Linked DNA regions of Homo sapiens: all the other regions are linked to region 2. Evidence: promoter capture Hi-C in 16 types of primary human blood cells and fetal thymus (Javierre and others, 2016). All regions are on one chromosome and are shown on one strand. The core of a region is centred on a gene start or on the middle of the fragment in contact, and the rest is flanking DNA. Distances in the headings are between cores, read along the strand shown. Region 1 has its middle 8.8 kb from the start of RNF145. Region 2 holds the start of MED7 (mediator complex subunit 7). Region 3 overlaps RNF145 (ring finger protein 145). Region 4 overlaps RNF145 (ring finger protein 145).

Region 1 (6,978 bases), core at 2,307-4,806, 2.1 Mb after region 2:
TCTTTTCTGCTAGACCTAAAAAAGGAAACCTGTAATCCCAGGAATTTACTGGCAGCTATCTGGGATACAAAAGGAAAGAACCAACTGAAGATTTAGCCAACAGAAGAAAGAGAACCTGAGACAAAAAAGAAACCAGGACCTGGTCACAGTGTAAGAGCTCTAAGCCTTATCTGAAGCCAGCATGCTGACCTCCTCACTCTTTAATTTATATTACCCAATAGATTACCTTTTTTGGCTTAAGCCAGTTTGGGTTGTGTTTTTGATTATTTACAGTTAAGAGTCCCAAGGCATTCAATCCTTATAATTTGCTTGTCACCCATCCCTGAGTATAATATGCTGCTATGAACATAAGGAGGTAACTAATAATAATAATGTTAAGTACATAAAAACACAATTGTACAGCTCCACATACTATTATGAAATACAACCATTTAACCACTATCCAGAAATATAAGCTTGTCCACATCCCAGAAGACCCTCACATGCCCTTTCATTCACAGCTGTCTCACTAGCCCCAAAGGTAATCATTTTCCTGACTTTAATGTAGTCACTTTCTTTTCTTTCTTTGACCACCTAACTATGAATTCCTGAAAACTGTAGTCTAGTTCTGCCTGTTCTTGAATGCTATATAAATTGCATAAAATAATCAAGTATTAGATTTTTTTTTCCTTTTTTTTTTCTTTTTTGAGATAGAGCCTCTCTCTGTCACCCAGGCTTGAGTGCAGTGGCACAATCTCGGCTCACTGCAACCTCTGCCTACTGGGTTCACACGATTCTTCTGCCTCAGCTTCCTGAGTAGCTGGGATTACAGGCATGCACCACCATGCCCAGCTAGTTTTTGTATTTTTAGTAGAGACAGGGTTTCACCATTTTGGTGGCCTTGGACCCCTGGCCTCAAATGACCCATCCACCTCAGCCTCCCAAAGTGCTGGGATTACAGGCATGAGCCACCATGCCCAGCCTAGATATTCTTTTGTGACTAGCTTTTTCTCCTTAACATTGTGAGATTCAATTACGTTCTCGTGAGGCTACAGTTATTTCATTTTCATTGCAGTATAGAATTGTCCTATGAATAGAATATGATTTAATCATCCTAGTACTTATGAACATTGAATTTATGAACATTAAAGTTTCATTTTGGAGCCATAGGTATGGTGAATCATGCTGCTGTCAACATTTTTGCACTTGCCTTCCTGGTCACCACCTGTACATATTTCCCTTGAATTGCTGGGCCACAGGGCTACGTATCTTCAACTTTCTTAGGTAACTCCAAACTGTTTTTCAAGGTGATTGCAGCACCTTACTTGCCTAATAGCAATCTGGGTCCTGTTGCCCTGTCTCCCAGCCTATGATTGGTATTGTCAGACTTTTAATTTTAACCATTCTAGTGGGGTTTTTAACTTGCATTTCCCTAATTGCCAATAAGGTTGAGTACTTTTTCGTATTTTGGGGGCCTTTTTAGATTTCCTTTTTGATGAATTGCTCAAGTCTTTTCCCCAGTTTTCCCTTACGTTGTCCTTTGCTTATTGTTTTCTTTTGTAATTCTTTGCATATTATGAATGCAAGTCCTTTGTCAATTATGTGTCAAGCAAAATGTTCTGTTATGTAGCTTCCCTTTTTAGTCTCAAAATGATGTCTTTTGAGGAAGGTAAATTTTTAGTTTAAATTTAATATTTTTTATTTGTAATGCTTGTTTTAAACCTGTTTTTTCTGTGCTCCACAGCACCATCTCTGTCATAAATTGAGTGTGCATATCTGAATAGATCTGTTTCTGAACTTTCTATTCTATCCCACTGGTTTCTTTGTTTATCCTTGTGCTGACACCAGACTGCTCCAGTGACTCTAAGAAGCTGATATGTGGTAAAGCACATCTTCCCACTTGGTTTTCTTTGTTTTGTTTTGTTTTCGGGAGGATCTTGGTTCTTTGCATTTCCTTATCAATTTTGGAATCAGCTTGTTGAGTTTCCCAAGATCGTGCTGAGGTTTTTAGTTTCCACGTAGATATTTTACATATCTCTTGTTACATTAATTCCTCCATGCCTGGTATTTTTTTATGCGATTGCTAATGGTAATTTACTTTTTTTTTTTTTTTTTTTTGAAGAGGAGTCTCCCTCTTTCATCCAGGCTGGAGCTCAGTGGCACAGTCTTGGCTCACCATAACCTCTGCCTCCCAGGTTCAAGCGATTCTCCTGCCTCAGCCTCCCAAGTAGCTGGGATTATAGTTGCCCACTGCCATGTCCAGCTAATTTTTGTATTTTTAGTAGAGATGGGGTTTCACCATGTTATCCAGGCTGGTCTCAAACTCCTGACCTCAAGTAATCCCCCCATCTCAGCCTCCCAAAGTGCTGGGATTACAGGTGTGAGCCACCCCACAGGCCGGAAATTTGCATTTTATTGTATGTTAGGCTTTGAGGATGTAACAGTAAATCTCAAGAGTCTCTGACCCCAAGACCTTCCAATGTCTTAGAGTGGGGGCAGACACATAAATGATGTGGGTTGGTTATCACAGATATACAAAGTGGTGTGGGTTAGTTGTGATAGAGGTGAGAAAATGTTACCATGAAAATGCAAATAGTGTGAAGTGGGTGGGATTAGCCCATTTGTGGGTTCTTGAGGGGATGGGGAGAGATATTCTGAGTGTTGAAAAATGCATAGGAGTCAGCTGAACGGGTGCTGACTCACACCTATAATCCCAGCACTTTGGGAGGCCAAGGTGGGTGGATCACCTGAGGTCAGGAGTTCAAGACCAGCCTGACCACCATGGTGAAACCCTGTGTCTACTGAAAATACAAAAATTAGCTGGGCGTGGCCGGGCATGGTGGCTCACGCCTGTAATCCCAGTACTTTGGGAGGCCAAGGTGGGTGGATCACCTGAGGTCAGGAGTTTGAGACCAGCCTGACCAACATGGCGAAAACCCATCTCTACTAAAAAAAAATAAAAATATTAGCCAGACATGGTGGCATGCACCTGTAGTCCCTCCCAACTATTCAGGAGTCTGAGGTGGGACGATGGCTTCAGCCCAGGAGGCGGAGGTTGCAGTGAGCCGAGATCACGCCACTGCATTCCAGCCTGCACAAAAAAGCCAGACCCAGTCTCAAAAAAAGAAAAAAAAATCTTCAAACAACCCATGGAGAGTCAACAGCTTCTCACAATAGTTGATCAGTTATAAAAAGCCAGCTAGCTTCTACCAGTTAAGATACCAGTAACAGTGGTGCCAATTGTTCAGATTATATGAAATTACAACTCCTATGTGTTATATATTCTATAATGTGAAGCAACTTGTGCACCCTGCAAACCAGGGTCCCTTGTAAATCACTGCATGGAGTAGTTTCATGGAGTAATAGGAGAATCAGTGATATTGTGGGTCCTCTTTTATCAATTATGTCACTTACCGCTGCGTATCCATATATTCTTTTTAATAAACTGCTATATATTAAAAAAAAAAAAAAAAAGACGTGCACCCAGAAGTGAAAGAATCAAGTTTAGGCACCTGCCAGATGCAGACAACCTGAAGACCACCAGCAACCTGCACTGCCTTAGCTGGCTTCTGCCCAGGTGGGGTCTGATGCAGCTGCTGGTGCCTGGGAAGGATTTAAGTGGGGGAGAGAGAGCATAAGGTGACCACAGGCCCTCACAAGTGCAGAGAACTCTCACTTTTTGGATGGAGATTGAGGCATTTAATTAATATCTTGACACATTTCTAATTACCAAAGCCAGACTGATTTTTTACTTAAAGTGAGTAGGAGTGCCCACTAATTAAGAATTCTTGATATCTGTCCAAGTTTCCACTGGAAGGCAGAAAAAAATTACTCCTTCTGAATACTTAAAGGGATAGTGAGTGATAAAATCAGATTGCATTTTGATTGCATCACAAATCTTCCGAGTTACTTCCAGAGTGTAAAGTTCATATAAGAAAGGATATGCAAAACAATTATGATTGGATCTCAGATTTACAGAGGGAATGGGGGGAAAGATGAGGTAAGCTGGGGCCAGTCCAGGAGTTAAGGAGGGACTTTTCATGCCATGCGAAGGAGTTTGGACTTTAACACAGAAATCAGTTAAATGCTGAGGAGTTGACTTAGAAGAGTAACATTTAGGGCATTTACTATGTTTTAGGTCCTGTACTAGGTAGTTTACATGAATTATCACATTTAATTATCATGAAAAACCTATGAAGTAGATAGTATAATTATTGCCATTCTAAAAATGAGAGAACTGAGGCATAGAGAGGTCAAGTAACTTGTCCAGAGTCACGCAGCTAGCAGCAGCAGAACTCAGATACAACCCAGACTTGTCAGGGTTCTATGTGTATATCCCCCATTATGCTGCACCTGCTTCCTGTCCCACTGATAATGCCAGGATAGATGATGAGTTTGTTCACAGAGTGTAGAACTCAAGCCCCACTGGTGTCTCCTTAGTAATGAATGAACGATTATTTTACCTGAAATGACTATATAAACAAAAGACAATAACACTTCAGGAATCTTCCCTGTGAGTTATCTTTGTTTTTGTTTTTGTTTTTGTTTTTTGAGACAAAGGCTCACTTTGTTGCCCATGCTGGAGTGGAGTGCCATGATCTCGGCTCACTGCAACCTCTGCCTCCTGGGTTCAAGCGATTCTGCCTCAGCCTCCTGAGTAGCTGGAACTACAGTCATGCGCCACCACTCCCAGCTAATTTTTGTATTTTTAGTAGAGATGGGGTTTCACCATGTTGGCCAGGCTGGTCTTGAACTCCTGACCTCAGGTGATCCACCCACCTCGGCCTCCCAAAGTGTTGGGATTACAGGCGTGGGCCACCGCGCCAGGCCCCTGTGAGTTTTCTTTGATGTCTGATATGGTTTGGCTGTGTCCCCATCCAAATCTCATCTTGAATTGTGGCTCCCATAATTCCCACCTGGGAGGTAATTGAATCATGGGGGCAGGTTTTTCCCATGCTGTTCTCGTGATAGTGAATAAGTCTCACGAGATCTGATGGTTTTATAAAGGGCAGTTCCCCTGTACACCCACTCTTGCCTGCTGCGATGTAGGACACGCCTTTGCTCCTTCTTCACCTTCCGCCATGATTGTGAGGCTCCCCCAGCCATGTGGAACTGTGAGTCCATTAAACCTGTTTTTCTTTATAAATTACCCAGTCTCAGGTATGTCTTTACTAGCAGCATGAGAACAGACTAATACAATGTCTCCACATTGTTTCACAAAATAAGAACGTTTGCTTTGGGTCATAGACTTCTGAGTAGAGTGTGGCTAATTAATTACTCTTTCTAAATGGGAAATGGAGGTGGCGGCTAGGAGAGTGCAGACTAGAGTTACTCTAACTGGGTTCAAAGCCTGGCTCTGCCTCTTACCAGCTGTGTGACCTTGGCCGAGGTACTCAACTTTTCTTTGCCTAATTTCCTATTTAATAACACCTACCTCACAGGATTTTGTGGTCAGATGTGTCATTATACATATAAAGTACTTAGAACAATGTCTTGCACAAGGAAAGCAGCATTGCTATGGTCTGAACGTTTATGTTCCCCCAAAATTCATATGTTAAAATCTATTATTCACTGCAATAGTATTAAGAGATGGGGTTTCTGGGAGGTGATTAGGTCATGAGGGCTCTGTTCTCATAAATGGAATTAGAGGCTTGAGGGAGCTTGTTCGCCCCTTCTGCCATGTGAGGACACGTAGAAAGCACTATCACCAGGAACAGGCTGTCACCAGACAACCGTTGCTGCCTTGATCTTAGACTTGCCAACATCTAGAACTGTGAGCAATATATTTATATTGTTTATAAATTACCTTATCTAAGATATGTTGTTATAGCAGCCCAAGCCAGGATAAGCACTATCATAATTGTTATTATTATTATTTTTGGCTTATCATGCTTATACCTTCACTATTCAAAGATACTAAAGATACTATCAGTCAGTATTTACTGAGCACATATTCATAGCATCTGTTAGATGCTAGGTGCCATATAAGTGAATTAGAACACACAATTCCTGCAGGTGCTAAGTGTGATGTAAATGAACCAGACCATAATTTCTGCCTTCAAGCCTGTTATGACCCAGTTAGATAGATGGACCTACGTATGCTGCCATGTTATAAAGCTGCATGATACATATTTTATCCCTTAATTGATTATAAACTCTTTCTGGCATGAGCCACAGTTTCTTTCTTTTTGAATCCCTCGCTCCTTCTCTCTTCCACTTAGGAGATTGTCTATAGTATGTCTTCAGCTAATTTGTCATCAACTTCCAAAAAACTTATTTTATTTGTTTCCTTTTTTTTTTCAAGACAGTCTCGCTTTGTCACCTAGGCTGGAGTTCAGGCACAATCTCGGCTTACTGCAACCTCCACCTCCCAGGCTCAAACAATTCTCCTGTCTCAGCCTCCTGAGTAGCTAGGATTACAGGTACCCGCCACCGTGCTCAGCTAATTTCTATATTTTTAGTAGAGATGGGGTTTCACCATGTTGGCCAGGCTGGTCTCAAACTCCTGACCTCAGGTGATCCACCTGCCTACTAGGCCTCTCAAACTGGTGGGATTACAGGTGTGAGGCACTGCACCTGGCTGCAAAAACCTTATTTTCAATAAACTTTCCTGCTGACCACTCCTATTAAGGTTCTGGTGCTTTCTTCATAGTGTCTTTACTCAAGTGTTCTCAGCATCAAGCTTCCAATCCACTGACCCTACCAGCTCTTTACATCTTCTCCTTATGTCCTGCCATCTCTCTTCACCCACCATAAGTTCTATGGTGTGTCATTTAAATGTGCCACTTACAAGGATTCTTGGCTCTCTGTCTGCTCTGTACCTGCACCTGAGTGGCTGATATTGCTGGATAAATCACACAACCAATCACAAATCTCAAATCTGAGCCTTCAGGCCCACTCCACAATCCCACTGCATTGTCCTGGTACATTTGTTTCCCACTCCCAGAGGGGCATGCTCTGCTGTCTTCTCAAACCTTCCACACCACCCATCCTCTCTCT
Region 2 (7,894 bases), core at 1,915-4,414:
GCATCCTCTCATCTCTAAAGAAAATCTTCTGGACTCCATGCCCCTCACCACTTATGCCCCATTTCTTTACTCTTCCATAACCAAACTACACAGGCTGTCTCCCAATCTCATATCACAATCACTTTTGTTTTATGTTATAGATTTATTTCCAATAGCAAACACTTACTTGTATCTCTCATAAACACTCTGACAAAATTAACATTGCTAAATCCTAAACACATTATTATCCAAAGTTCCTGAATGAAATGATGATTCAGTTCCATACCCTTTTTGTCACAGTATACTATGCAATTTTATATGGACACATTAACTTTTGTTTGTTTTTTGAGATGGAGTCTTGCTCTGATGTCCAGGCTAGAGTGCAGTGGTGCAATCTCAGATCTCAGCTCACTGCAACCTCCGCCTCCTGGGCTCAAGCAATTCTCCTGCCTCAGCCTCCTAAGTAGATGGGATTACAGGCGTGCACCATGTCTGGCTAATTTTTGTATTTTTAGTAGAGACGGGATTTTGCCATGTTGGCCAGGTTGGTCTCTTTACTCCCCATCTCAGGTGATCCGCCCACCTTGGCCTCCCAAAGTGCTGGGATTACAGGCGTGAGCCACCACGCCTGGCCTGTATGGACACATTAACTTCTCTACAACTATCACAGAAATGTCAAACCCCAGGTTCAAACCCAGTATCTATGGCCATAATAACCTCTACTTATTCTACCTTAAGCCTAGGTATACCATCCAATGAGAAGATCCTTAAGTGCTCCTTTAGATTGGTGTTATCAGAGTTTCAAGATATAACACACTCTAACATCGGGTGGGGCAAGTATCCTACTAGAAGCAATATTATACTTAGAATTCGTGAGGTACTGAGGGCAGCTGTGGCGCAGCCCTGAGTTTCCACTATGCCACAGTGGTGCATAGGATGATGCAGCCTCGCCCTCCTAGGCTCAAGCGATCCTCCCACCTCAACCTCCCAAGCAGCTGGGACTACAGGCATGTCACCAAGCCCGGCTAATTTTTGTATATTTTGTAGAGACAGAGTTTTGCCATGTTACTCAGGCTTGTTTCAAACTCCTGAGCTCAAGCAATCCTCCTGCCTTGGCCTCCCAAAGTGCTGGGATTACAGGCGTGAGCCACCACACCCAGACATTTTAAAACTTTTAACATAAATTCAGATTACAGAAAAAGTGCATGAATACACAAAAAACACTTCATATTCTTCACTCAGATTCTCCAAATGTTAACATTTTCCTTCATTTGCTTTATTGGTTTTTCATTCCTTTACCCCTGAATACTTCAGTGTGTTTTCTCGTGACAAGAATGTTTTCTTCTACCCAAAGCACAATTACCAAAATCAAAGAATTAACAGTGATCTGGTACTTCAAAATACATTTTTTTTTTCCCTGAGACAGTGTCTCGCTCTGTCACCCAGGTTGGAGTGCAGTGGCACGATCTCGGCTCACTGCAAGCTCGGACTCCCGGGTTCACGCCATTCTCCTGCCTCAGCCGCCTGAGTAGCTAGGACTACAGGCGCCCGCCACGACGCCCGGCTAATGTTTTCTATTTTCAGTAGAGACGAGATTTCATCGTGTTAGCCAGGATGGTCTCGATCTCCTGACCTCGTGTTCCACCTGCCTCGACCTCCCAAAGTTCTGGGATTACAGGCGTGAGCCACCGTGCCCGGCAGAAAATACAATTTTTGACAGCTCACGTTTCATCCCACTCAAACCTTTTTAGGTGAGGAGTGCTGCTCTGTACTTTCCTACACGATGTGCATTCCTGTATTGCGGCTGCCATTTTCCTAAGGCCAACTACATGACAGGTACCATTTTTTATGGCCTCTGTAACATAATCTTCATTAACAATTCTATGAATTAAGGTTTTTGGGGTTTTTGTTGTTAGTTTTGTTTTTTGAGACAAGGGCTCAATCTGTCTCCCAGGCTGGAGTGCAGTGGTACCATCAGGGCTCACTGCAACCTCTGCCTCCCGGGTTCAAGGGATTCTCCTGCCTGAGCCTCCTGAGTAGCTGGGGACTACAGGTGCGCACCACCACGCCCAGCTAATTTTTGTATTTCTCGGTAAAGACAGGTTTTCACCATGTTGGCCAGGCTGGTCTGGAACTCCTGACCTCAAGTGATCCGCCCACCTCGGCCTCCCAAAGTGCTGGGATTACAGGCGTGAGCCACCACACGGTCCCACGAATTAAGTTCTATTATCAATTTCATTTTAGAAGTGAGGATCCGAAGTCTCAATGAGGGGAAGTGTTGCCCCAGATCAAAAGGTTAATAAATGGCACAACAGGAATTCTTATCCCAGGTCCCTTTAGCTCCAAAGGGCAAGCTCTCTTATATCCCTAAGCCGAGAAGCATCTAACTGTACAATAAGGACTGGCATATCACAAAAATTATATTTCTTTCTCTACTGTCTCTCTAGATGGAACTTTTCAAAGGTGATGGAGGTCTTATTTTTAATAAAAGCAGAGCCAAGCATCAGAGCTGGTTCTTAACTCAAGATCCAACATCTAGTGTTTGTTCTACTGGGGGAGAAGGAGCTTCACCAGAAGACGACAGACATTCCAGGGTCCCAGCCCCAGAGATTTGATTCATTCTGTCTACTGTGAATGGGCCCTAGAATGTCGCTTTTAAAACCTCTCCAGATGGACCTGACGATTAGGCTTGGGATCTACCGCCCTCGCCTGCCCCCATACCTCAGCTGTTTCATAACTGCTCCCAGAAGAAGGAAGGGCAGGGAGGGCTACTCTCATGTTACAAAGAGCCGGAGAGGGCAAATGACTCGCCCAAGGCCACACAGCTTAGAAAAACAGCGGCGCGGGGACTAGACGCCAGGTCTCCCAACCTCCACTCCGGCTCGGCGTCCCAACACGGAGGAAGCCCCGAGACTGCCACGCTTAGAGCCCCCTCCTCCAGGCTGTCCACCCCGAGGCCTCCGCGCTCTCGGAGAGACCGCACTCTCGGAGAGACTCGGGAGAGAAAGACGAAAGACCGCCTTTGGAGGCCGAACTCAGCCATGCCTCCCCAGTTCCCAGCCCAGCACAGAGGAAGCTGCGGGGTCCGGAAGAAAAAAACGCACACAGGCGGCGGCCCCAAACCGTTGCCGCCCACTTACCTCAGCTCTGGCTTTACACTGGTAGCCGCCTTCCCCTCTGCAGCCGAAACCAACTTCCGGTCTCCTCCGGGAAGAAGCCACCGACTCTGTCCTTGATTGGCTGTAAGAGCTGTCCTTTAACGAAATTCTAGCTCCGCCTCAGACCGATCCCTCGCTGTTGCGCCTACGTATGTTTGACTCCTCCCATCCACCCGTTACTGACTTTTAAAAGTCGTAGCTGAGGGTTCCGTTTCTTCGTTTCTTTTTGAATTAAGGCATAAAATTGAACAAGACACCTTATTGCTTTATTTTTTATAGACCCCTTATTGACCAGAAACAATCTTATGTTTTAATGTTTAACATGCTCTTGTAAGACTTAACGTGAATTTAGAAATTTATGACACGAAAATAACCTCCAAAAGAAACGCTTGCTATTGCGCCTGCGTATATTCCACCCCCTTCCCCATTACCACTCTTTTACTGACTTAGTCGCTGCTGGTAGTTCCATTCCTTTTGTCCTTTTTTAATTTAACGCATACAATTAAGACGTCTTACATACAAATTCGAAAATATAGACATGCAGGGTTTTTTTGTTGTTTTTTTCTTTGAGACGGAGTCTTTCTCTTTCGCCCAGGCTGGACTGCAGTGGCGCGATTTCGGCTCGCTGCAACTTCAGTCTCCGGGATTCAAGCGATTCTCGTGCCTCAGCCTCCCGAATAGTTGGGGTTTCACCTATTTTTTTTTCTTTTTTTTGTATTTTTGGTAGAGACAGGGTTTCACCGTGTTGGCGAGGCTCATCTCGAGCTCTTGATATGAAGTGATCCGCCCGCCTCGGCCACCCAAAGTGCTGGGATTGTAGGCGTGAACCACCACTTCCGGACTCCCCCATTTTAAATCCCTCGCACGTATCAATTTATTTCCTGAAGAAATCCATCTACGTTGAGCATAACCCAATCCAGCTTTTCTCCTCACCGCTGACCCCAATGTATCCTGCACCAGTGACTTCCAATGGTCGTTCCCAGTCCTCATTTTACTCCATCTGTCAGCAGCATTTGGCACATTTGATTAATGGATTGCCCCAGGACTCAGTTCTCCAACCACTTCTCAGTCAGATATCAGCTGGATGATTACATGCAGGCCCTGGAACACCGTTTCCTCTGCACTTCAGACCCTCATATCCAGTGGTGACAGACATCTTTCCCCAGTTGCACTTTACTCAATTGCAAATGTTCAATCGAAGGAATCACCTTTTTCTCCTTTCTCACATACCCCACCGAAACTACCATACCAGCCTTTTGCATTAGATCTATTTAAAAATAAGTAAATAAAGTTCCAAATATGACTGACCACCGTTCCCACTGCTATGGTCCTATGCCATGCCACCATTATCTCTCACCTGGACTTCTTTGATTTTTTGTCCTCCCTTAGTCTATTTACCACACCTTCTTAAAATATAAGACCGGTCTTATCACTCCTCTATTCAAAATCCTCCAAGGCTTTCTATGACTTTTAGAATAAAATCTGACATCCTTCCCCTGGCCTATATCACAGGCCCTACAAAATTGCCAAGTACATCCCGGCCTTGGGGCCAATGCATTTGCCTGGAACTCTTTGCACAGATATTGACACGTCTCATTTCCTTCTTTCCTTTTTTTTTTTTTTTTTTTTTTTTTTTTTTTTGAGACGAAGTCTTGCTCTGTCACCCAGGCTGGAGTGCAGTGGCCCAATCTCGGCTCACTGCAAGCTCCACCTCCCAGGTTCACGCCATTCTCCTGCCTCAGCCTCCCCAGCAGCTGGGACTAGAGGCACACGCCATCACGCCCAGCTAATTTTTTTGTATTTTTAGTAGAGACGGGGTTTCACCGTGTTAGCCAGGATGGTCTGAATCTCCTGACCTCGTGATCCGCCCGCCTCGGCCTCCCAAAGTGCTGGGATTATAGGCGTGAGCCACCGCGCCCGGCTTCATTTCCTCAATTCATTCAGGTTTCTGGTCAAATGTGACTTCAAAGAGTTCTTCTGGGGTTACACTACTCTATGCAAAATAGCGCATCCCTAATCTTTCTCTTGGGAGATGCCCCTGAAACCCTTACTATGTATTATCTTTTTTTCATAGAACCTCTCATCATCTGAAATCATCTTACATAGTATATTTATGTATTTTATTGCCTTTCTTATCCATCAAAAATATCAGGTTTATGAGCATGGGACCTTTGTTTCATTTACTGCTGTTGTGTTTGAACCTACATACAACGGTGCCTGAAATTGGCAAATACTCAATAAGTGTTTATTGAATAAGAAACAAAATGAATACAATCATCACTTTCAAATAAATTCATAGCGTGGCTTTGGTGGTTATACCACAGTCTCTTTAGCCAGATCCTCATTGTGTTAAATTATTTTTCTCCAAATTTGATCCAGTGTAACTACACAGGATGATGAGATCCCAGTACATATATGTTTGTGCATGTGTCCAATTTTGTTCTTTGAAATAAATTTCTAGAAATAGAATTACTGGGCCCAAAGGGGCAGTGTCTTAACAGTTAGTAGCAGAATCAAGGCTAGAATCTTGGACTCTTGACTATCAATCTAGTGTTCTTTCCAATAAACTTCAAATGAATAATGGATATGAAGTCCATATCATGAGAAGGGCTAGTGACAATATGATGTGTGTTAAACATTTAATTATATGACTATATTGGCAAAATCTCAATGGAAAGCTTATTACTTAAAGATGCCTACTACAGCTTAACAAGGAATATGCTCGTTGAATAAATCTGTATATTGTGTGTCTGTTGTGCCGGCACTGGTCTAGAAGGCTAAAAAGACAGACAAAAGCCAGTGGGGCCTTTGAAAAAAGTGTTCTTTCTAGAAGGTGTTCTAGAGAGACACAGACAAGAAGTATACAAACAAGTAAAAACTTCGAATAGTGGTAAGGGCTATGGGGGAAAGTATAATACAGATTAATGTGATAGTGACGTGGGTTGGGGAATAGCTACTTTACACAGGGTGGTCAGGGTAGCCTCTCACAGAAGGTTAACTTTGGAAACAAAATATGAAGGAGTGAATTCTGCAGAGATCTGGGAGACAGCAAATGCAAAGAGCGTGGGGCTGCCATGATCTTTCTGAATTAGAGAGAGGAAGGCAGCCTGTGTGCTCCATAGCTAGTGAGCAAAGAAAGAAAGAGCAGGGGAGATGAAATGGGCAAAGACACACGGTAACCGACTTCTTGCCTCCCTTAGGATCTTGGCACATTATAAAAAACATCGCTGTCATTTGAACCTAAATTACAAGCAGAAATTTTTAGTTTCCACCCTATTGATTTTTTAAAATGTAGATTTATTGAGGGATACTTTACATAGAATAAAATTAACTCTAGGTGAATAGTTATAAGAGTTTTGATAAATACATACTGACATAAAACCACTACCACCCGGATTAAGATGTAGAATATTTCATCACCCCAAACAACTTTTTTTTATTTCAATTCCTTCCCTTTATCCCCATCCTCTAGTAACCACTGATCTGATCCCTGTTCATATAGTTTTACCTTTTGCAGAATGTCATATAAATGAAATTAGAAAGTATGTAGTTTTTGGTGTCTGGTTCCTTTCACTTAGCATAATACTTTTGAAGTCCATCAATGTTGTTCAATGTATAATACTTTGTTCCTTTTTACAGATAAGGAATATTCCATTGTATGAATATACTGTAATTCATGTATCCATTCACTGGTTAATAGACATTTGGGTTATTTCAGTTTGAGGTGATTCTTAACAAAGATACTATAAACATTCCCATGCAAGTCAATTGTATGGACATATGTTTTCATTTCTTTTGGATAACAACATAGTGACAAAATTGCTGGACATTATAATAATTATATGTTTAACTATATGAGAAACTACCAAGCAGTTTTCTAAAGAGGCTGCTTATTTTTCATTTCTCAGCAATCTATCGGAGGTATAGTTGCCCTCAATCTGCAAATTGGTGTTATCCTTTTAATTTTTACTTTTTGCTATTCTAATATCTGTATAATGATTTTAATTTGCATTTCCTTAGTATTGGGTATCTTTCATGTGTTTACTGGCCATGTATATCTTTTCTTTGGCGAACTGTCTGTTCAAAATTTTTGCCCATTTTTTAAATTGGCATGTTTTCTTACTATTGAATTGTAAGGGTGCACACACACAAATACACACAAGATATAAGTCCTTGATAAGATATGTCTTTTACAAATATTTTCTCCTAGTCTGTGGTTAATCATTTCATTTTTTAAGTGTCTTTCAGCAAGCAGAGTTTTTTTATTTTGATGATGACAAGTTTATCAATTATTTTATTTTATGGCTCATACTTTTTGTGTCCTTTCCAAGAATCTTTGCCTAACTCAAAGTCAAAGATTTTTCCTCTGTTTTCTTCTACAAGTTTTCTAATTTTAAGTTTTACGTTTAGGTCTATGATCCTTTTGGGGTTAATTTTTGTATTTGATGCCCAGTAAGGGTCAAAACTCCTTTTATTTGTTTATTTATGCTTATAGAAGTCGAATTGTTACAGCAACTTGTTGATTTTGTTGGCCTTACTACCTCTGTCATTGGTAGGCAGGTTTATAGATAGTAATCCCTGAGCGTCTGTTAGTCAGTTACATTGTATCTTTGGCTTGCTGATCAGCCCGGCAGAATCATTGGAAGATAGCAAGTAAAAATTTTTATCTCCAAGCTGGGCATGGTGGCATGCACCTGGGGTCCCAGTTACTTGGGAGGCTGAGGTAGGAGGATTGCTTGAGCTGATATAGCGCCACT
Region 3 (6,929 bases), core at 1,355-3,854, 2.1 Mb after region 2:
CTCCCCACCTCCTCCCTCAACAAAGTAACTCAGTGACTCAAAACCTGTCATCTTTTCTCTCTTATCGTCAAGTCCTGCTGAGCCTTCCATGATAAATTCCTCTCATGTGTTACCCTTCCATTCCAACCTCTATGTCCCATATCCTAATCTGCTCTGCAATGCACAGTATACTACCATCCTTCTTTCAGTCTCTATTTTTGTATACCCTATACTTCAAGCTTGTCCAACCCACGGCCCATGGGCTACATGTGGCCCAGGATGGCTTTGAATACAGCCCAACACAAATTCATAAACTTTCTTAAAATATTATGAGTTTTTTTTTTTTTTTTTGCAATTTTAAGCTCATCAGCTATCACTAGTGTTAGCATATTTTATGTGTGGCCCAAGACAATTATTTTCCTAATGTGGTCCAGGGAAGCCAAAAGATTGGACACCCTGATATACTTAATTACCAGGGTAATATTCCTAACACCATCACTTTTACTTGACAATTCTCCTGCTCTAAAAGTTATGAACCTGACATTCTTGGTCTTACACAATCTGGACCCAGTCTACTCTTCTATAACCATCTTCCACTTAATTTACAAATCTTTATTAAGGCACAGGTACTCCTACTTATCCCCTATTGCCTCTCTCATGCTGAATCAATCATGCCAAAAGCTAAGAAAACATGAGCATGCTTGGGACTAAAGAAACAGAACTGAGGATTTCCTACACATCCTAACTGCAAGGACAGTCCATCAAAAGCCAGAGATAAGTATTTTTATTTGCTCTTTATTTCTTAAAATAATTTCCCCAATTTTGTTAACCCCTACCTCAAATGACTTTAGAGGTATTTTAAAGGATATGTAATATAGTTACTAAGCATTTCCACTGATTGTAGCTGAAGGATTTTCTAATGTCTATTACATGAAACTTCTCCTTAAACTCTCTTTTAACGAAACTGTCATTTTCCTTTCCAGAACGGTCTTGTCTTTTCTTTCTCCTATATATCGCATATAAAATCAGCGGCCAAATCTTCTAGATCAAACATATTCATTTCATCCATTCCTTCAATTATCCAGTCATTCAATCAACATTATTATGTGTAAAGTATGACCCACTTGCATTCCTAGACATGGAAGATCCAAAATTAATGTGAATAATAATCTAGTGAAAAGATAAGCATGGACAAAAGTAATTATTAGACAAAATTGATGCTATAATAAATGAACATTGGAAGGGCTATGGTTAAGTGATTAAGCTTGACTTGGATCTCTAAAGGTGAATGGTTCTTTACCAGGCTAAGAAGAAAAGGAAACATTCTAGGAAAAGAGAACAGCAAGCATGAAAACCATAAAAGTGTAATTTTCAGGGGACAGTAAATTCTGTACGTTAGACTAGACTTTGATGTTAACAGAAAGATTGGGAGATGATGCTGAAAGAACTAGCAGCTAAAGCCTCAATATAAAGCCTAAATACAATAATCAAGAATTTAGACTTAGCTAATGGTTCTCAAATTCTTCAATATCTATTTAGGTGAGGTAAGAGAACAGAAACCAAAACAACAAAAGCACCATTGCTCATCTATACCCCATTTTTATATTCCAGTGGAAAAGTAACTCTGTGATAACAAAATATTTGTGTAAGAAAACTTTGAGAGACAATGAATACTAACTATGAGAGCAGTATGAATGAACCATCTGAACTACGATGTATATATAATCTAACAATTTAAAAAATGCAAGCCAAAAATACTATTGACACAAACATGCATCACAACTCACTCTACAGCATTAACCAAACAATCCATAACAAACTAAGTTGACAATGGCAAAGCTGTTAGTTTTTAAATTATACACAGTAATTTGTAATTAAAAAGCAAGACCAGTGGCATTTAAAAATGATGACCTAGGCCAGGTGTAGTAGTGCACACCTATAATCCCAGCTACTCGGGAGGCTGGGGTGGGAGGATCCCTTGAGCCCAAGAATTCAAGGTTACAGTGAGGTTATGATTGCCAGTCTGGGTGACAGAGCATGACCCTGTCTCTATAAAAAATAAGGGTTGGATGTGTTGGCTCACATCTGTAATCCCAGCACTTTGGGAGGCCAAAGCAGAAGATCACTTGAGCTTAGGAGTTCGAGACCAGCCTGGGTAACACGGCAAATTCCTGTCTCTACAAAAAAATACAAAAAATTAGCCAGGTGTGGTGGCACACAACTGTGGTCCCACCTACTGAGGAGGCTGAGGTGGGAGGATCACACGAGCCCAGAAGGTTGATGCTGCAGTGAGCTAAGATTGTACCACTGCACTCCAATCTGGGCGACAGTGAGACTCTATCTCTAAATAAATAAATAAATAAATAAATAAATAAATAAATAAAAGAAATAATGACCTACGGGAACAGACTCTGAGAACAGAAAAAATAAAAAATAAATCAAAATGATGACCTGCTTAAAACAACACTGATGAATCTAATAATTTCTGCTATTTAAACATTATGGTAGTTGTAGGGTAAACAGCAGGACCAGAGGTAAGATGAGAGCCTGGATTGTAACAGTAGCTTTGGGTATGGAGCTGCCAGTCAGCCATGAGATACATATTTAAATAGGTCTTAGTGGTTATCTGTGGGTGACTAGTTGAGAACAAGGAAGTGAAGATCTGATGTTTCTAGCTTGGGTAATCAAGAAGACAGCTTTGCTATTAAGACAGGAAACACAGCAGGAGAAAGACTTCTGAGGTGAGAAAAAGGTGATGAGTTCAGTGATTGACAACAAATTGAAATGTCCATAGGCTATTTAGGTGGAAATGTCTAAGAAGTAATTCAAAATGCATTCATTCAGGGCTGGGCACAGTGGCTAATATCTGTAATCCTAGCACTCTTGGAGGCTGAGGCAGGAGGATCACTTTAGGCCAGGAGTTTGAGACCAGTCTGGGTAACAAAACAAGACCTTGGTATATGCCTGTAGTACCAGCTACTCCAGCAGCTAAGGGTTACTTGAGCCCAGGAGTCTGAGACTGCAGTGAGCCATGATCACACCACTGCACTCCAACCTGCGCAAGAGTGAGACCCTGTCACGTACATACATACATATATATAAAATTCATTCATTATTGGGCACCAGCTAGGTGCTGGGAATACTGAGATAATAAACAACCCCCTTCTTACCTTAAAGGAGCTCACAATCTATTAACAGTTGGGAAAATAGATAAGCATATGGACCCTTAGAATGCAACATAATAATTGCTATGGTAGAGATGTGAACTGGTTCCATGGAATCACAGAGGAAGAACATCAACTCCAGACTACAGTGGTCAAAAAGCAATGTAAAGTGGAGACAGAGATCTGCAGCCCAAACTACGTTCGGTCACCCAAACAACAAAAGATTAAAATTAAACACAAATTGTGGGCAATATCAACACTTGAGAAGTCTAAAGAAAACAAATCAAAAGAATCAGAAGCAATGGTCAGGGAGTTAGGAGAAAAATCAGGAAAAAAAAAAAAAACACTTTCAAGAAAGAGGAAGTGGTAAACAGCTCCATAAACATAGAAAAGTCTGTAGAATTAGGACATAAATGAGGGTTGAATTTTACATTTTAAGTCACTAATGATTTTAGTGATGGTAGTTTCAAAAGGATTTTCGCATCCATTTCTTCCTTTCTAATTTCTACCTTGCCAGTTCTGGCTCTCATTACCTCTTGCCTAAAATCCTAACTGGTCTTCTTACCTCCAGTTTCTCCCCTCCCCAATCCATCATCCTATAAAACGCTGCCTAATCAATCTTAAAATGCAGCTCACCTGCTCTAAAATCCCCACTGACCCACCACGACCTATAGAATTAAGCACCATATCTACTGTATGTATTCAGGATTCTTCACAAAAGCCCTATTCTACCTTACCAATATTACTTCTACTCCTCCTTTCATATCCTACACTCCAAAAAACAGTGGGCAGTCACTTCTCTTTCAGCAGAACCCACCCTGGAAAGCTTCTAAGTTTGAAGACACAATTACATTCCATTAAATACAAACTTTATTGCTCCCTCCCTTAATTTTTAAGCTCCTTAATTACAATTAGAAGACATAAAGGGGGAAAAACTCCCACTTACGATAGCAATAAAAAAGATAAAATACCTAGAAACAATAAATGTCAGGAGGCTGCGGCAGGAGGATCACTTGAGCCCAGGAGTTCCAGGCCAGCCTGGGCAACACAGCAAGAACCCATCCTCCCCACCTGCCCCCAAAATTAGTAATAATGCAATCTAAATTTTAAAAAAAATCAAATGGGTTGCTTTGTTTTTGGAATGAGACCTAGACAATTTTGAGACAATTCTTAAATTCACATAGAAAACTAACCATAAAAAAAAAGCTCAGAGGAGGAAATAAAGAAAACTGAAGGGACTAACCCTGTTAGACAGTAAAATATAATCTAAACCCTCAACAAATAAGACAGCGTGTTAATAGTTCACAAACAGGCAGACAGACTAAAGGAAGAGAAGTTCAAAAATGAAACAAAATATATGTGAGAATTCAGTATATAATGAGAAAAAAATGGACTAAATAGGTGAGGATGACTGTGTGGTTATCTAGAAAAAATAAAATTATACCTATAACACACTATTCATACAGATAAATGAAGCAAAGATTTAAATGTAAAAATAAACCCACAAAAATAGTAAGATAAAATACAACAGAATTCTTTATAAACTCAAGAATAAAGAAGGCTTTTCTAATTGACTCAAAATACTAAAGCTTAAAAACCTTCTAAATGTCAAAAAATCATAAGCAAAATCACTGAGTTGAAACTGGAAAAACTATTTTCAACTTATCACAAAGGATTAATTTCCCTAATGTATACCAAATTCCCACAAATTGGTAAAAAAAGAATCTCACAGAAAAGTGGGCAGGGTATATAAACTGACAACTCTCAGAAGAGAAAATACAGGTTTTTCTTAAGTATGTGTATGTTCAATTCATTCATAATAGAAATGCAAACTAAAACTACATTGAGTTAAAAAAATCAATTTTTCCACCTATTGGAGTAGCCAAAATATTTGTGGTAACAGGCTGTTTTGATAATATAGGATTGTAGGAACTCTCAACCACGGTTTTTGGAGGTACAAAATAGTAAAACCCTATGGAAAGTACTATCTGTCAACACTACAAATATATATAAGTTAACCCTTGAACAACATAGGATGGAACTGTGAGGGTCCACTTACATGTAGATTTTTTACAACCAAACTCTTATGGAATACAGTATTTGCAACATGCAAAACCCACGTATACAGAGGGCCAACCTTCTGCATACATAGTTCCACAGGGTCACTTGAGGGACCTGAGTATGCGCAGATTTTGGTATACGTGGGCATCCTGGAACCAACTTCCAGCATACACCGACGGACCACTGTACTCTTTAACCCAGCAACTTCGCTTCTAGTAACTTAGCCCCAGGTTATATTTGTACTTGTTGAAATTATAGCTATACAAAGTTATTTAGCACAACGCTGTACAAAATAGCAGAAGGTAGGCTATCTAAAATGTCCACCAATGGAGTAATTAGTTCAATAAATTATGGTATATCCATACGAAGATACTATGCCAACGTAAAATGCAATCGGGAAGAGGAGAAATGAGGCCTCGATATCTACTCAAGAGAGTCTTTAAGATCCGGCAGACTGTCATCATAAGAAAAAGAGCACAAAACTCTATTTCATAAATATCTAAAAGCAGTAGTTATGGCTCCACATACATCACAAACAAAAACCATGATTCAAAACCATGTATACCATGCTAACATCTGTATAAAAAGGGGGGAAATATACATTTTTTATATTTACTTATATATACATAAAAATATCTCTAGAATTATACAGAAAGAAATAAAAGCTACATGGTGTTCAGAGTGAGAACTCAGCGAATGAGTAACAGAGATGGGAGGGAGATACTTTTCATTAAATACTTTTTATGCTTTTTTATTTCTGAATGTAGATACATTATTTTATTAAGGTGAAATTTGATTTGTATTTGAGGGTGAAATTCTGTAAACAGGAGCATTACATAAACACTATGTAATATTTTGACAAAGGTAACTCCAACCAAAACATTGTTCAAGCTGAAAATATCTGTTCATGCAACCACTGAGCTTACTCTACTTTGGCATGGAGTAAGCATATTTAAGATGGCTCAACTAACTTTATAAAATTATAAACCAGATTATGAACTTCAATTGTACTCGAAAACATTCAATTTCTAAAATTAATATTCCTGGTTATCAGGCAGCTGTTTTTATAATAAATATTTCAACCTATTCAGAAACAATATATAAGCACATTTTTAAAACCACAGTATGTATGACTTTGCTGATTAATCTAAAAATCTAAGCCAAGTACCCAGTTGTTCTACAACTGACGGGAATTACTTTCCATAAATTGGCTAACATACAAAGCCTTTCATAAAAGGCTGAGAATTACAGTGTTTTGCAACATAAAGGAACTTTCCCATTTCAGAGACATTCCCAAGGTAGTGCTATCCACAAAAGATGAGTTTACTGAACCGAAACGTTTTGTTTCTAGTGCACCATCTCTTCTACTACATCATACTTCTTTCCACAACAGCTTACCTCTTAGGGATGTAAGGGGAACGTTCTCAGGGCTAAGTTTTAGAACCCAGAAAGTGATAAAAATAAATCTCAGAGAGACAGGACAACTCTTCATGACTTTATAAAAGATATATTTTGTGACAGGCAACTCTAATAATAAAATATTAGCAAAACCACTATAGTACCATTCAAACCATGTCTGGAACTCTGCAATCACAACATTAATAAAATATATTGCTATATACATTACAAATAAACCAAAACCTAAAAAGTAAGGATCATGATTTTTATTCTAGGTAAATTTTATCTGTTTCATGCTTGTATTTCTTGACTTTAATTTCTTCAATC
Region 4 (7,715 bases), core at 1,621-4,120, 2.0 Mb after region 2:
ATTATTATGTTAGCACCTCCCTGCATTGCCAAACCTAGGTATCCAGTGAATGAAAATCCTATCTTAACAAAATACGAAGTTGTGTAACATGAACGATAAAAGTAATCTGCAAAACTTACTATTCCTAGATCAAAGTTTTCTCTTTCTAAGGTTATATATAGTATCATAGGCTCTTATTAATTACCTTGTCAGAAAAAGGAAAAGAAGCCTCTCACGTGATGCAGGCTGATCTCGAGTACTGAAATAGGAGTAAATCTGAAGAGCAAATAAGACGAGCCAGAAAACCATGAAAAGAACAGGGACTACCAGTTGATTCCACAGGGACATTCCCAAGGCGAGAAGGCCATATACCTCCACTACCTAAATAAAAACGTAAGATAGGAAAACTTCTTGCATCACCATCAATAAACACTTTAAACACTTGAGTCAAATCAGAAGTAAAATATTAAATAGCTTTTCTTTGATTGCAAGACTGTTTCAGCTAAATTCCTTTAAAGTTAGCCTATATAGTTAATAAATAGCATGTTTTTTAAAACTTACTAATTTTGCATTATTATTAACACTTGACACACACTTATCTAATAGCACAGTAAACTGCCCTAATAGTTCAGGGATAAGGTCAAAATAAGGTCATATTCAGTACAAAATAACCTTAAAAGGTAGTTTGAGGAGACTTGGTAAACACTCATGTCTAATCAAAATAATCAGGACTAGCATGAATTGATACAACACTGCTTGAGGCACTAGGAAAAAAAATGCAAAAGTAAAAACTTTCAGGGTTTATTCAGAAATGTCACAAATGAGAAACAGTTCAATGGAAGAAGAGTACTTAATCACTGGAAAAAAATTTTGCAGAGCAAAGATAGTTAGCAAGTCTTTTTCTCCCATACACATCAATTCCCCTTCCTCCTACTGTGTTTTTATCAAGCTATGTTTTTCCATTTGGTTTGCCAAGTGTAAGTAACACTAGGAAAAGGATATATCTTAAAAAAAAAAAAGGCTTAATAATCTGCAACTCACTAAATTAGTTTTCCAGTTTATAAAACACTCTTCTTATGAAACTGATTAGGAAAAATCAATCACAGAATCTGATTCAATCTAAGAGCATAGGTGTAACCAAGTTTCTAGAGTTACTATGTCAGGGACCAGACCCTGGTGACACAGCAGGAATTCTGCTGGACAGCTTACAAAACCAGTATCTAGCAGTCAGCTGGTCTTGCTGGAATCTCTCAATGTGATACCAGAATGTTTCAATAAGGTATAAACATCTTTAAGTATTAAGTTAAAATAAATTGACTTGCAGATTATTCTAAATTTAAAATTCTTTCATCAGTAAAGCAAAGGCTTTTTCTACAACCCAGTCTATTAACTTCTATTTTCCCCAGTGACAAAAGATTAAAAGAAAAAGGAAACTGCCCAACTAGCTGCAAAATTATTATCAGGTAAACTCATCATTACGAGGCAGAGAATATTTTTCTTCCTTTCCATTCAAGAAACAGACCACTAAAAAAACCTGTCTGTTTCCATTTCTTGCTTATCTGATTCTTTCCTGGTCACGCATTTTATAACCTATATTTCCAACAACTACATCTAGTTGATGTATGAATCTTATGGCAACCAACTAAACATGACATTAAAAAATGAAGGCTGAGGTTATTCAATAAATATTTAATATTCAATAAGTATTTACTGAATATTCATTATTTATTACAAACAAAGATAACCCTCATAAGACTGAATTCAAAGAAAAAATATGTATCTTAAATTTGTCATTATTACCCTGAATACAACTATAACCCTTCCTGCCCTGCTTCCCCATGAAGCCACTCTTCACTGACTGTAGAAATAATCCCTTTTCTGGAAGATCTACTCCTGGGAAAACTGCCCAAGTTAATCACTGTGTAAGACGAAGATAGAATCAGGCTAAGGCCAAAAGCTTAGAGAAAGTATTCTCAAAGATCTGCCCCTGGGGCCACAAGAGAATACTTCACTTAGCTGTTATCAGTTTGTTCTATCTGAGAGCTTCCTGTACCTTAAGGACACAGTCAAGAGGTGGAAGACAGTGACATTTTAACACTCTCTTTTTATACCAATGTCAGGTTAAAATCTATTTTATATATTACAAACTATCAATTAAACCAAACAGAAACATTTATTTCCCAAATGTGTATTGTTTGTATCTGGGAGTAATTTATCTTAGAGCAAAGGCTGAAAAAAGTAGGGAAGAAACTTTTACAAAAAGCATGTTATGTTGGCAAAGTCAATTCAAGTACTATATCTAAATGAAATCTATCATATTATAACCCAGAACTATTTAACTTTTCTGTTTAAATTAGGCACACAAAGGGAAGAAACTATAGTCACAGTAGGACTATAATCAGAAGGAAAAAGCAGGATTTGACTTATAGGTATTCAATTCTTTATTATTTTTGTCTTCATTACAATAGCTAACACATATGGAACATTGTCTGCCTGGTACTAAACTCATTTAAATCTCACAGAACTCTATGAGGAAAGCACAGCTTTCATTATTAGCTCCGTTTTACAGAAAGTAACGCAATTATCACAAGGTTACACAGCTAGTGAACAGCAGCATCAGGGTTCGATCTCAGATAAATCTGCTTTAAGAGAACCACTTCACTTTACTGCCTTCTCAATAGAACATAATCAAGAATCTTTCAGATGCTCCTAATTGGGCTGAAAATAGCAGCTGTTTTGAAACTGCAAAAATGAATGGTACCATAACTGTGAAATAAAAATGAACTATAACTTTAATGTACTTAACATTTATGTAGAATTTTATCTACCTGTTTGTGGTTGTCAGCAGTCTTACCTGAACCAATTCTCTGTATGCAGATTTAGCAAGGTTATAAGGTACCAAAAGATTAGACCCAAGAAAATAGAGAACTTCCAATCCAGTAAAAATCATAGCAAATTTATTGATGATAACAATTGTCTCCAAAGGAACAAGGCAGAGTCGTGCTAGCAGAGGAAGCATGTGAGCTGAAAACAGCCAAATCTGCTTTGTTTTCATGACACAGGAGCATAAAGTACACACCACCAACTGACCTAAAATAGGGAATAGAATACATTTAATTTTGAGTATTTGGCATCCACAAAATAAAAACAAACAAAAAACACTGTTGATAAGGATAATAACACAACTTTTGAAGAAGTCTAACTAAAATCTCGTAGATAATATTTTAAATCAAACTTAAACTTCATCTGACTATAATTACATATTCACATGTTCTGTGAATTTTGAATACTAATTCTGTAGGGCTGATCTGGAAAGAGCAGCATAAATCTCCACTGGTCGTCTGTGATGCCATGTGTAATATGAAGAAAACTTTAAACAATGTCTAATTCAGTATTGTGACAATTCAGTTGCTAATGTTTATACATAACTTCTTTTCCAAAGGTACGCAATATTTAACTGTTCTGGTCTATAGGTGAAAGCATAAAATCCAAGAGATATAATTACTTGTTCAAGATCATACTGCAACAATATTTGTTCTGATAATTTTTTAATCTTTATTTTTGGAGGGCCAAGTAAACTGCCCCAAATAACTAAATCATAAGTTAAAACTAAAAACTAAATAAATTCTTCTCACTGGGGATTACGCATGATCATTACATTAAACACAGAAATACAAAGAACAAAATGGGAAACTCTCAGTCTCTTATAATCCCACAACCCAAAGGTAGTCCTAAGAACACCCTGGGGTACACTGAATGTATGTGACATGATATTTGCATTTAGCCCTTTCCAAATATTCCATAATTATAAAATGCTTTGTATGAATAAGCTTTTACATTATGACATCCTTGTATAAACTACTTGGAACACATTTCCTAATATTCTCTTAGGCTAGGAATTACTGAATCAGAAAAAAACATTTTTAAAGACTTTGACACACTGTCAAGACTGCCCTCCAGCAACAATTTACCAGTGTATAATGTGGCTATTTTTCTATTAACTTGCCATAGTGAGTATAATTTAGAGATGGGAAGAACAGGGAATATTTCCCAAATTTTTTAAATTGGCATTTTGTTGGTTACTAACAGCACTGAACATTATCAATAAGTATATGAAAACATTTGCAATTATTTGGTGAAATGTTCACATTCTTTGCCCATTTTTCTGCTAGAATACGTATCCTACTGCCTGATCGAAATAGTAATCCTTAGTCACATGATTGCATTTTTCTAATATGTCCCTTGTCTTAATATTTTAAATAACTTTATTCTCTTATAAAAGTATGTATTGAAAATAGTCAAACCATTTTTTTTCTTAATAGTACCCACCTTTAGTGCCATGGCTTATTACATGGCTACCCCACTCAAGATTATACAAATAGCTGTATTTTCTTTTAGTAATTTTTAGCTAATTTTTAATTTTAACTTAAAAATTAATACATTTGATTTATTGTGGAATAAGAAAATAAAGATCGAAGTTTGTTTTTTGTACATGTTTAGCTGGTTATCTCAAAACTGGCTACTGGAATCATCCATTCCTTTCTCATTAATTTGAAATGCCACTGTAGTAAACTCCAAAATCTTTTACATATTTAGGTCTATATAAGAACTTGTTACTTTTTGTTTTCAGTGATCTATTCTAATGATGGTACCACCCTGCTCCATCATACTGATTGGACAAGTCCTCTCTCATTGCTCCTTTCAGAATTTCTTGGAGATTACTGAATGTTATTTTCCAGATTAATTTAGAATAATTAATCATATTCTCTCACTTCTTGTCAATGAAAACCAAAATGAAAATTTGGGACTTGTTTGTATTCTATCCATATACATGTTGAATATTCCTAATCCAAAAATCTAAAATCCAAAATGCCCTAAAATCTAACATTATGCTCCAAGAAAATGCTTATTGGAGTATTTTGGATTTCAGATTTTGGGATTAAGGATTTCCAAACAGTAATATAATGCAGATATTCCAAAATGTAAAAAAATCAGAAATCCAAAACACTTCTGGTGCCAAGCATTTTGAATAAGGAAAATTCAATTTGTGTTAGAAAAATACAAAAATGTCAACCATTTTTACATAAGACCAAACACTTACAACAATCTACTATGTCATAAACACATACGGTATTTTATCTCACAAAGCATTAATTTTGGCCTTTAAAAAACTGATACTAAAGTAATGTGAAAAATAATCATAAAGGCATAAAGAAAAGAAAAACTCCTAATTATATAGAAAACAAGAGGCCACCAAATGATCTGGCTTTCACTGTGTTTATAGCTATGAAATTTAAATGTCCTTGTTGAGCACAATGTAAACTTCCTCTAAGCTCTGAAAATTCCCTTAAGTCTATGCCAGCACATGTGGTGCTCAGTGCTGGGGTTACAGGCTCCCTTTATCTTCTTTCATAGAAGAATATGACTCATATGGCGTATTTAAGAGAAGACTACTCCTGCTGACGTAAAAGAAGGAAGGAGTCATATTGTTAGTGGAATTTCCCCTGAAGTTCCAAAAGAATAAGTTGTTTGTCTTCTGATTTGCCTATTTCAACTTTTAACTCTGCATAAACCAAAATCCCAATGTACTCTTTAGATTTCAGGATTCCACTATTAGAAATATCTCCAAGAGGTTGGCAACCCTAAGAAATCATGGCATATTAAAATTACCTAGTTTTTCAAAAAAGTTTGTTACTGAAATGAAGAAAAACACCAGAAAATTATTTTAAAATCTAAGTTGGAAGAAAACATGCTCCTTAATAGTTTATGGACTTTGGAAAGTTGAATCTTAGTTAAGTAAACAGAAGACCATGGCCACTGATAAGAAGAGTTTTAAGAAATATGCTTCATATTTATAATACAAGTATATGCATCATAAACTAAAACTTTACAAGCTTTCTAACTTGGCAAATATCTTCATTATTGAATGTTACCGTTAATAAATATGCCAACTCATAACGATAGTCATAAAGCAACATTATTTTTGTCCTCTGCTGTCTTTTAAAATCCACTCTGTAGAGATTAGTGGTTTTCCTGCCCCTAGATAAAATCCAAGGCAAGTCCCATAACTTTTCTACTCTAGCTTAGGTTACTGTCTCAATTTAATAATAACTGAAACTTTCAAACAGATTTAAAGTTGAGACTTATCCCTTACTCTAGAGTTCAGGCATTCTAGGGAAAGCATTAATTTTTACCTTTATGCTTTAAGATAGAAAACCTGCAAGTGGGAGAGAAGGTGGGGAGGTTGTGGCTGGCTTCTTTCTCTTTTTTGACCTAGCACTTCTCCCTCTCTCTCTGACTTACCAAGGATTGAAGTGGGTAGGGAAGAAGGAGAGGGAGGGAAGTAGGCAGGTTCCTACTTAACTGGACTCTTACAATGATGTGGTTGTTACTGGTGCTTCCTAGACTTGAGGTATCTAAAACTGATTTATTTTCCCCTGGACCCTTTTATGGGTTCTTCTGAAACCGTTCCTATCACTGTGGCTCTCTCACCTGCAGCAGTACCCTTGGTGCTTGGTATACACCCTCAACTGGCCATTTTTGGCTCTTTTCTCAGCTCCTGGGAATCTGGAAGGTCAATCCCTGTTGAGGTCTTCTCATCCATCTAAAAGGCCTTCTTGAACAGGACCCAAGAAAATCCTACACAGACTTTCGGGGCCACTGTCTAGTTCACAAGAAACTTACATCCTTTGCTCTACAATTTCCTGTATCAGAAGATACAGGAAAACCCTATAAGGCATTTTCATTCCACAGTCAAAACACTCAACAAGCAACTAGTCTATTGCTAGTCCTTTATATCAGATTAGAATTATAATGTAAGCCAAATATAATTTTAAATTTTCTATTAGTGTCATTTCAAAAAGTAAAAAGAAACAAGTGAAATCAACAATATATTTTATATAACCTAACATATCCTAAACATCATCATATAGACATTCAATCTATATTAAAAGTTAACAAGATGTATTAAAAGTTAACCTGGTTTGTACCAAGTCTTCAAAATTGAGTATGTGCTTTACACATACAGCACACCTTAATCTCAATTCACCACACTGCAAGTGCTAACCAGCCACATGTGGCTAGTTTTGGACAATGTAGTTTTAGATTTTGCAGGCTGAAAAGGCACAAGAATGATATAGTGGAATTCTGGCCTCCTGGAAAGGTGAGAGGTGGGTGAAGGATAAAAGACTGCACATTGGGTACAGCATACACTCCTCAGGCGACGGATGCACCAAAATATCAGAAATCACTGCTAAAGAGCTTGTCCATGTAACCAAACACCATGTGTTCCCCCAGAAACTTATCTAAAAAATGTTTTCCCAGCCTGGGCGACAGAGCAAGACTCTGTCTCAAAAAAAAAAAAAAAGTTTTTTAATGTAAGAAAATAAAAATAAAAGTGTAACTCAAAAAAAAAAGATGTTCCAGGGTGAGTCAGACACCAGTCCACAGCATTCCCCCCTTCACCACACAAGACACATAACTCCCCAAATGGTCCCCCAGTGAATCCTCTAGTGTAAAGGGCTGGGGAAGTATTTCAGAAAAAAAGAGTTCTCTCTGAAGAAATCCTCCTCTAATCTCTAATATTAGGCCTGTTAACACCTTCTACATGGGTGAGTTTCAAAGTCACAAAACAGGTTTTCTCTTACTTCCTTTTTTGCATTTTGGCATGGTACACTCTGGTAGCAGGGGTCTGGTACTTCACTTTAAATTGTATCTATATTGTTTTTAGGCCTTAG

Evidence for each region. Contacts are between HindIII fragments. The CHiCAGO score rates a contact against its expected background, and 5 or more counts as called.
Region 1: a fragment that was not itself captured here is called in contact with the fragment with the promoter of MED7 in region 2 in 1 of 17 cell types (neutrophils); the score reaches 5.8 in neutrophils.
Region 3: a fragment that was not itself captured here is called in contact with the fragment with the promoter of MED7 in region 2 in 1 of 17 cell types (naive B cells); the score reaches 6.5 in naive B cells.
Region 4: a fragment that was not itself captured here is called in contact with the fragment with the promoter of MED7 in region 2 in 1 of 17 cell types (fetal thymus); the score reaches 5.7 in fetal thymus.

Annotation. Positions count from the first base shown.
Region 1 is chr5:159,214,871-159,221,848 of GRCh38, forward strand. No RefSeq gene overlaps it. Among named protein-coding and RNA genes, the nearest start is that of RNF145, 8.8 kb to the left of the region's middle. The HindIII fragment of the contact is 6,206 bases long and covers 454-6,659 here.
Region 2 is chr5:157,139,701-157,147,594 of GRCh38, forward strand. MED7 (mediator complex subunit 7) reads right to left here and starts at 3,165. Exons shown (of 2, transcript NM_004270.5): 1 at 3,120-3,165. RefSeq lists enhancers at 2,833-2,882, 3,693-3,792. The HindIII fragment of the contact is 9,177 bases long and covers 1-5,813 here.
Region 3 is chr5:159,195,917-159,202,845 of GRCh38, forward strand. All of the region lies in intron 2 of RNF145 (ring finger protein 145), which reads right to left. Among named protein-coding and RNA genes, the nearest start is that of RNF145, 10 kb to the right of the region's middle. The HindIII fragment of the contact is 2,726 bases long and covers 1,242-3,967 here.
Region 4 is chr5:159,173,799-159,181,513 of GRCh38, forward strand. RNF145 (ring finger protein 145) reads right to left here. Exons shown (of 11, transcript NM_001199383.2): 5 at 2,834-3,069; 6 at 185-360. Among named protein-coding and RNA genes, the nearest start is that of RNF145, 32 kb to the right of the region's middle. The HindIII fragment of the contact is 1,873 bases long and covers 1,935-3,807 here.